Linked DNA regions of Homo sapiens: region 2 is linked to region 1. Evidence: promoter capture Hi-C in 16 types of primary human blood cells and fetal thymus (Javierre and others, 2016). All regions are on one chromosome and are shown on one strand. Each heading gives the region's core, a stretch centred on a gene start or on the middle of the fragment in contact. The rest is flanking DNA. Distances are from core to core; before and after follow the strand shown. Region 1 holds the start of CMTR2 (cap methyltransferase 2). Region 2 overlaps HYDIN (HYDIN axonemal central pair apparatus protein).

Region 1 (4,696 bases), core at 843-3,342:
ACTTTTTTCATTCTTTCTTATTTTGTTTAAATTATTTGCAAGTCTACTCTACCAGTTTGTAATTTCCTTGAAGTAACAGGTGTCTTCTTAGTCATTTGTTTGCCACGGTATATTTATATTAAAAAAAAGTTTTTTTTTGAGACAGGGTCTCACTCTGCTACCCAGGCTGGAGTGCAGTGGCACAGGTCATAGCTCCCTGCAGCCTTGACCTCTTCCCAGGCTCAAAGGATCCTCCCACCTCAGCCTCCAAAGGAGTTGGGACTACAGACGTGCACCACCACACCCAGTTAGTTAAAAAAAAAATTGTGGAGATGGGGTCTTGCTCTGTTGCCCAGGCTGGTCTCAAAATCCTGGGCTCAAGCAATCCCTCCAACTCGGCCTTCCAAGGTGCTGGGATTACAGGTGTCAGCCACTATGCCTGTTTTTTGTTTGTTTCTTTTTTACTGGTAGAGCTATATTTAGACAAATTTCTAAAGGAAGACAAAACTGAGGTGTTTCCACATTCACTAAAATCTTAAAATAAGGGCATATAAAAGTTTTTTTCAACAAGCTCCTCTGTCTTAATTCGCATTGTGCTTGCTGGAAACTACAGCCATGTTTAGATCTCATCTATACTCTATTTCGGAAAAAGTCTAATTTTAATCATTAACTTCACATACTAATTAACGGCTGTAGTTAAGCTGTGAAACCTTACCTAAGCTAATAGGAAATTACCTTCACATGAGGACAACTTAAGTGATTCAGACACTCCACCGTTCTGACTATACTTTTGCTGTGTTGCCACCTAATTTTTATTACTACTCCCTTACTCACTACTCCAGCCAAACAGGCCTTTCTGCTGTTCACTGAAGACACCAAGCACATTCCAAGACAAAAGTCTTTCTGCATTGGTGGTCCCTCTGCCTGGAATGCTCTTTCCCCAGCTGTCAGCACAGCTAACTCCTTCACCTCCTTCCAATATTTGCTCAAATGTCATTTTCTCAGTGAAGCCTACCTAAGATTGCATCTTGCATTCCCCATGCCTCTTACCTCGCTGTATTTTTTTCCTATGGTACTCATGTACTTCCAACCTATAACTTCCTTCTTTTTGTTTACTGTTTATTATTTGTCTTCCCCAAACTAGAATGTAAGCTCCACAGGACAGAGATCTTTGTTTTGTTTACACATAGACCATTCCAAGAAGTTGGACATTGCCTGGTACACAGTAAGCACTCAGTATTACTGAATAAATGAGTGGATATCATACTTAGCACAAAAGGGATCTCTCTCTTCAGGTTCTGAATATGAGTCATTAATAGTGCACCTCAACTTCACTCCAGCACTTAAATGCATGACTTAAAAAAAAAAAAAAAAGCATGTGGCTTACAGCGTGTGTGGAAAAATTTTCCAGTATATGATCCTCTGAGCCTTTCATTAAACAGTCCTTTGAGCTTTGTGACATCATAATTCTGCTAAGTGGGTCGCTATTACCATTCTCATATTGCAAACTCAAGTAGGCAGTTATGTAGCCCCCGCCCAAATTAGTGAACCCAAAACAAAACCCACAAGATCTCATCAACAGTTTTTACCTCACAGCTGACACTTATAAAGGAGTTCCAAGTGCTTCCGCCAACTCCTCCTACCAGCAACTGTGAAAACAACGGCCAGTGAGTATCCAGGGCTGACTTTGGGCCGGGCACCCCATATCTCATTTCATCTAGTGAAGTAAGTCCCAAACCCCACTCCAGAGGCCCGGTCCCTGACCTGGAGGAAACTCAGTCCCAGCCCCTGGCTCACCCGCTGGGAAGTCGAAGGAGGGCCCGGAATCGTACCCAGGCCTGGATTACCTTCGCCCACGCCCACTGGGGCCCCAGTGTCTGGAGAGGCTGCACTTTACTCTCTCGAGGAAGCCATTCTGCACTTCCGCTCTCGGGGCTGCTTCCCGGGATGGTCCCTCCCTTTGGGTCCGCGGCGCCTCCAGCCACAAGGCAGGGAGATGGTGCGCCGGACTGGGGGGAAGGCTGTCCGGACCCGCCCTCGCGGCACCGGGAAGCCAGTCCCACCTCCGGGCCCCGCAGCCGCGAATGCCGGCAGACAGGGACCAGGAGGCACTCAAGTCCCACTGCGCACGCGCCCTGTAGGCCGGGCCGGAGTCACGTGCGCCAACGTTACGCACGCCGGCGACTCTCGCCTCGCCTAGGCCTCAGCTCCCTAGGTTTTGCTTCGCGGAGTACAGAAGCTGGGAGGCGCCAGCCTCCCGCCCCCGGCCACTATGGCAACGGAAGCGGCGCGCGCAGGCGGAGCATTCTTTGGCTCCGTCCCGAAGAGGGGTGAAAGGGAGAGGGACAGGGAGGCGAAGGGGAGGGGGAGGGGGAGGGAGGGAAGGGACGGGGCAAACCTGTCTGTCAGGACGTGCTGGTTCCGCTCACTGGCTGCTGGCCCCAAGGGCTTTCAGACTCTTCTGGACAGTTGTTACTTCCTGTACAGACTGGGTTGAAACTGCAGCTCAAAAGACGATAGGTTAAAAGCCAAACTAGGGAACTGCAAGATAAGATTGTTTATATATACATGACATAATATATATTAATTATGTTGCTTAATAAGCCAATAAGAAAAAGGCCAACAACCCCAGAAGGAAAATGAGCAAATATTAGAACAGGCCTCCCAAAAAACAAAAAAGTCAAACAAATAGCCACTAAGGATATACAAAACTGTTTAAACTATTATTAGACAAGAATGGAAATGAAAACAGCAAGTTTTCTTTTTACTCGGTTTAGCAAAGATGTAAAACCTTGGTAATGACCACTGTTGGTGTGACTATGGGGAAACAGGTTTACATCTGTGGATGGAAGAAAAACGTTATTAGAAACCTTACGGAAGGCAAACTTATTTATTTGTTTGTTTACTGAAACAAGGTCTTACCCTCACCCAGGCTGGTGTGCAGTGGCTCGATCTCGGCTCACTGCAGCCTCAACTTCCCCGGGCTCACGCGATCCTCCTAGAGAGATGGCATCTCCCTATCTTAGGCTGGTCTGGAACTCCTGGACTCAAGCGATCCGTTGGTCTCGGCCACCCAAAGTGCTGGGATTACAGGCATGAGCCAAGCCGCCTAGCCCAGAAGGCAAACGTTGAAAAGAGACATGCACTTTGGCTGGGCGCAGTGGCTCACGCCTGTAATCCCAGCATTTTGAGAGGCCGAGGCGAGCGGATCACGAGGTCAAGAGTCCGAGACCAGCCTGACCAACATAGTGAAACCCCGTCTCTACTAATAATGCAAAAAATTAGCCAGGCGTGGTGGCGGGCGCCTGTAATCCTAGCTACTTGGGAGGCTGAGGCAGGAGAATCGCTTGAACCCGGGAGGCGGAGGTTGGAGCGAGCCGAGATCTCACCACTGCACACCAGCCCGGGCGACAGTGCGAGACTCCGTCTCGGGAAAAAAAGAGGACATGCATTTTAACCCAGCAATTCCTCCTCCTCGCAGTTTATCCTTAGGAGATAATTAAACAGCTGGCACTCACTTTGGACAAAATGTTCATTTCAGCATCTCAATAACATAGCCAAATGGAAATACTCTAAATGTCTACTTTAAGAGAATTAATTAAATTATTACAGTACATCTATATAATGCACATATATGCATTATATGCAGCCATTAATAGGCTGTATGTGTCAACAGTATTGCATGAAAATAGAAGAATATTAGAATTATGTGTAGAGTTTTTAACCATTTATGTAAATAGATATATAGACATAAATGTAAAATTCATTTTTTACAAGTCTTCCAGAACATGGACCAATGGAGAAAAGATTATATTTTCACAAAATAGTGGTAGGTCATTTGTGTCTCTCCATGCAAAAAAAATTGTATTTGGACCCTCCTTACATCATAAACAAAAATACATTTCATTTGGATTGTCAGTCTGTATTTTAAAAGTTAATAAGAAAACATAAGAGAACATCTTTGCAACCTTGAAGTAGTCAAAAAGTTTATAACAGGACACAAAATACTAATCATAAAGGAAAAATGTATAAATTGAACTATATTAAAACTAAAAATATTTAGAGCCTGTAGTCCCAGCTCTAGGGAGGCTGAGGCAGGAGGATGGCATGAACCCAGGAGGTGGAACTTGCAGTGAACCGAGATTGCACCACTGCACTCCAGCCTGGGTGACAGAGCGAGACTCCGTCTCACAAAAAAAAAAAAAAAAAAAAAAAAAGAAAGCACGGGCTGGGTGTGGTGGCTTATGCCTGTAATCCCAGCATTCTGGGAGGCCAAGGCGGGCAGACTGCTTGAGTCCAGGAGTTTGAGACCAGCCTAGGCAACATAGTGAAACCCCGTCTCTACTGAAAAACAAAAAATTAACCTGGCATGGTGGTGTGCACCTGTAATCTCAGCTACAAGGGAGGCTGAGGTGGATCACCTGAGCCCAGGAGGTTGAGGATGCAGTGAGCTGAGATCACACCACTGCACTCTAGCCAGTACAACAGAGTGAGACCCTGTCTCAAAATAATAATAAAGTACAGGGATTTATTGCAAAGTGAATAGCATTTATACAAGTAAGTGCTATATTGTGTGGTACAAGTTAAGTGTTGTAGGAGTCTAAAGAATGAAGTTAGTAGGAAAAATATAGGAAAAGACTAGGGAAAAAGAAACTTTAATTTCTGTTCTTTTAAGGGTGAAGTTACGTGGGGAAGGGGAGTGCCAGCCTAGCTCAGG
Region 2 (4,564 bases), core at 805-3,304, 480 kb before region 1:
ATGGCTTCAGTTACCTGTGGTCAACTGTGGAATGAAAATATTTAATGAAAAATTCCAGAAATAAAAAATTCATACTTTTTAAATGGCATGCTGTTCTGAATAACTTGAGGAAATCTCATGCCATCCCACTCCATCCTGCTCAGGATGTGAATCATCCCCTCGTCTAGCGTATGCATGCTGTAGACACAACCTACTTGATAGTCACTGAGTAGATGACTTGGGGTTAGCAGGTCAACTGTCATGGGATCGCAATGCTTGTGTTCAAGGAAACCTTATTTAGTTTAATAATGGCCCCAAAGCACATGGGTAGTGATGCTGGCATATTATTATAATTATTACATTTTATTATTATTATTGTTAATGTCTTACTGTGCCTAATTTATAAATTAATCAAAGGTATGTATGTAAAGGAAAATACCACAGTATATGGAGTGTTCAGTACTATCTGTGGTTTCAGGCATCTACTGGGCACCTTGGAATGTATCCCCTGAGGATGAGGGAGGACTATTGTAAAGGTCTGTGTTTACAGACATTCTAGAAAAAGCTTTTTTGGTCCTAGAGTATACTGGGCTAGGGTTGTGGGGAGGTACAGAAGAAGGAGAAGAGTCTCCCTCCATGAAAGCCACCTCTGACAGGTATAAGGACTTGCTAAAAGATTGCCGGGCCACACCTACAGACTTTTTGATTCAGTCGATCTGACATGGGGACTGAGAGTTTGACTTTTAATAAATTCCCAGGTGATAGTACTGCTGCTGGCCCAGGGACCATTTTTAAGACCCACTTCTTTACGGCATTCATTCCCAAGAGGCCATCTTCTTCCAGTCTCCTGCCCCTCTTGTAGGAGGGCTGTGGGGGATGAGTGTGGGGAGCAGGTAGAGGCAGGGGGACCCTCCGTCAGAGGTGTATGTCTGCAGAAGCAAACCCATGCCAGGGCCAGACTTTAACCATCTGCTATACAAGTTAAATGTATATAATAAAGATGCCCACACCCCTCTCCAGACCAATTACATCAGATGGGGACTGGGCACGTTCAGAGTGAGAGTTAGGTGGTCCTGATGTGCAGATGGGTTGAGAATCCCTGCTCTCCTGCTGAATGCTATCCAAGGCGGGGTGTGTATGTGTGGTGGGGGGAGCTGGGATCTCTATTAGCCTTTCTCCAGGGCCTAGACTTCAGTGAGAACTTTCTGTGTAGGGCAGATGTGGGATTCGGACACTGATGGTATAAAAGCCAAGAGAAAAAGTGATGGGAGTGTCCCTGGATTGCCCTAATGTTATCTGCTCATCCCTCTGAAAATATTTATTTGGCTTTTATGTGAAAGCAGAATAAAATGCCACATCAAAATAGTCATGTCTAAGGGCTTTTTAAACCATTTTGGATTTTAAAAAGAAACTGCAGTACCCAGCGTCACGCATTGCTAAGTGTTGTAGAGTAGAAGGTCACTAGTGTGATACCTGTGCCTTCTTGATAAAAATGGGAATTATTACAAAGTACTTGAGCTTTGGGGCTATGTCAAGAAACTCAATTTAGGGACTCACAAGGATTCAGTTGTCTAAAATATAGAGCTGTTGTGTGTAGTTATAATGTTTAATATGGAATAGATATTTCATATCTATATTTGGAAAACACATAATAGGGAAATAACTGCCCTATAATTGTATGAGAAGAATAAAAACAGTTCCTTTAGAATTCTTATTGTTTTCTCTATTCTTTTTCAGGCTAAGACAATGCATAGCTTTTGGTTGATACAGGTAACCCTGGTTACCACTAAAGGGTGATCCCCTTCAGATAATAAACCCATTTAACTCCAGTCTCACTCCCTTCACCAGGAGGGCAGCTCACAGTCAGCTTGGTGGTGATGGGGGTTTTGCTGCCAGATGGGTTTCCTTCAAAGGAGACTGTGATGTTGTTGATCTTCTTGGGCCGCACAGACTCTCCAGCGCGAATGGTGAAGGCTGGGTTATCCACGATGATGGAGAAGGTCACCATGTGATAGAAGACATTCTTGAAGGGGATGATTATGCTGTACCCGGCTCGGATCGAGAAGGGACCTTGGGGCTTGGGAGGCAGAGCCATTCCAAAGAGGGGGATGATATACTCTCCACCTGCGAGCGATGATAGGATCAGGATGCCCTTGGTCTCACCCAGGTGGCTGGGCTCGAATAAGACTTCCACACTGGCTTCAGTGCCTCCCTGGCCTCCTGGGGCTGCATTAATGAGTTTTTCTGCGTGGAAGTCTGTACAGTCGGTCTGAAAGGGGAACAAACAAACTCAGCTCACGTGAGATCCTGAAGAGCACACCAGGAGCTCAAGTCTACCCCAGCCCCTCCACTCCTGGACATCAAGCAACTATGTCTGTGTGAGACTGGGAATGTTATAAAGTTGTGTCCTTATAACTCCCTTGTAGGGTAGGTATTACTAATTATTATTTCTATTTTGCTACAAAGAAACAAAGGCAAAGAGATGTTAATAATGTGTACTGAGACACACAGCCACATTACGTTAATAGGGCAGTCATGGATGCTGATCCCCTATATTCGGTTCTTTCCTTCCATGTACATGGAAGACCAAACATTCTGGTTCCTTGCAGATGGGTGGTGCTAGTTCCAGACAACTAGCTGTGAGCAGAAGTGAAAGGTGTCACTTCCATGCTAGAGCCTTTCATTGCCAATTTAACTCCTGTCAGGGTCCTTTCACCACTCTAATACTGTACTGGAAATATTTGAGATGGTGCTTGAATCCCAAGAGACTGAGATGAGCAGGGTCCCCTGCTGGCCTCTCTGGAAAATTGCTCAAATGAGAAACAAGCCTTCATCTTAAGCCCCTGTGATTGCTACTGCACCTAACCTAGCATCTCTTGGCTGATACAACTGATCAAGAGCCTCTGCCTCTTGGCTACAGCCACAAGATCTCTGATTTTACCTGGGCATGTGACTGCCCAGTACAAAAGCTACCTTTCCTAGCTCCTTTGTTGATAGGTGTGGTCCTGTGAAGTTTTGTTCCATGGAATATTAGTAGAGGTGATATATACAACTGTCCCCTCTTCCCTTGTAGCTGGCTGGAATGTGGATGTCCTGATAAACCATCTTGGCCCACGTGGACCAAAACAGCTCCCTTCAGAGGGCAGAGCATCGGGACAGAAGATGTCTGGGTGCCTGGTGTCAGCGAGCTGCCATTCCAGCTCAAACTGCTTATGCCCAGACTGTTATTTGTGAGAGAAACCAACACCTAATTTGCTGTTATTTGTGGTTTCTGTTTTTTAGAATTTTATTTTATGTTTTTAAATAGAGATGAGGTCTCGCTATGTTGCCCAGGCTGGTCTTCAACTCCTGGCTATAGCGATCTTCCCACCTGAGCCTCCCAAAGTGCTAGGATTGCAGATGTGAACCACTGTGTCTAGCTTTGGGTTTCTGTTTTAGTAGTTGAACCTATATTCCAACTGATGTAACAGCTAATGTATATGGAGCACTTACTATAGGCTAGGCTCTAAGAAAATGGCTTTAGATACATATTTAAAATCCTTATAGCAATCCTGCAAGGTTGGGGGTATTATCCCCATTTATAAATAAGCTTAGAGAGCTTAAGCAAATTATTCATACAAAGAGTAAGTGGTGAAGCCAGGACTCAAACCCATGTCTGTTTGATTCCACAGCCGATACCATGACTACTAAGCTATACTGTCTCCCTCTGTGGATCACTGGGCGTGCTGTGTGAAACAAAACTCCCCTACACTCCATCACAGCTTGTTAAGACAGAAAGTCTGTAATGGAAGAACCCAGGCCTGGTGCTGTTTGTTTCTAGCTGGGAGTTTCCAGGCTAGATTCAGGCCTCTGAGGCAGGTGTCACCATGACAACGAAGCACCTGAGTCTCTCTGAGTCTCACATTCATGCTCCCTGTGTCTCCTCTCATTGTTTTTGAACCCAGCGTTCATGTGAGGGAAGGGCAGAAGGTAGAGCAGGGGCCACTCACCCTGCAGTAGTATTCTGTCCTCTGCCGTGTGTAATTGATGAACTTCACAAGGATGATTTGGCTGCTGCCAAGGACAGTCTGGAAGTGAACAGGCTTTTCCGGAAGTGCTGGCGTGGCTTTCAGATAGAGCTCATATTGGTAGTAACCCAAGTCAGTGTTGTGCAAAGTTAGTCTTCCGAAGGTTTCTCCAGCTTTCAGGGGCTGAAATTCAAATGAGAACGTGCCCTGGAAGAGAAAACAGAGGATCCTGTCATGCTGAAAGGCTAATTCATCACCTGCCACCTAGAGACCTGCCCAAGGCTCCATAGCAGGTTGGGGGCAGAAATAGTGCACATGATCATGCTGTTCTTGCTCCTGGGGAACCTGTCCAAACCAGCCCACCCTCTCTCCCCTGTACCTCTCCTAGCTTTCTCTAGTTCAGGTGATTCTATATCTGGGATCTCTATGAATCTAAGTGCAGGTGCTGGACTGTCTCCTGAGAAGCGCACATAGGGAGATGTGGAGATGGGTGAGTGCTGCCAGTAGGAGGGCTGAAGCTTAGGCAGCTCCTTCTTTGCTCATGGCCAATCTCAGAACAGCGTCCTGGGTTCTGCCAT

Evidence for each region. The method cuts DNA at HindIII sites, captures the fragments that hold promoters and counts their contacts. A CHiCAGO score of 5 or more calls a contact.
Region 2: a contact is called between a fragment that was not itself captured here and the fragment with the promoter of CMTR2 in region 1, in 2 of 17 cell types (M1 macrophages and M0 macrophages). The highest score is 5.8, in M1 macrophages.

The regions. Positions count from the first base shown.
Region 1 is chr16:71,287,310-71,292,005 of GRCh38, forward strand. CMTR2 (cap methyltransferase 2) reads right to left here and starts at 2,093. Exons shown (of 3, transcript NM_018348.6): 1 at 1,827-2,093; 2 at 1,569-1,628. LOC102723786 (a long non-coding RNA gene) reads left to right here and starts at 1,491. Exons shown (of 4, transcript XR_933707.3): 1 at 1,491-1,646. RefSeq lists silencers at 1,846-2,215, 2,296-2,365. The HindIII fragment of the contact is 7,094 bases long and covers 1-4,696 here.
Region 2 is chr16:70,805,815-70,810,378 of GRCh38, forward strand. It overlaps HYDIN (HYDIN axonemal central pair apparatus protein), which reads right to left. Exons shown (of 86, transcript NM_001270974.2): 85 at 3,969-4,193; 86 at 1-2,248. The coding sequence ends at 1,766. Among named protein-coding and RNA genes, the nearest start is that of VAC14, 6.9 kb to the left of the region's middle. The HindIII fragment of the contact is 3,024 bases long and covers 543-3,566 here.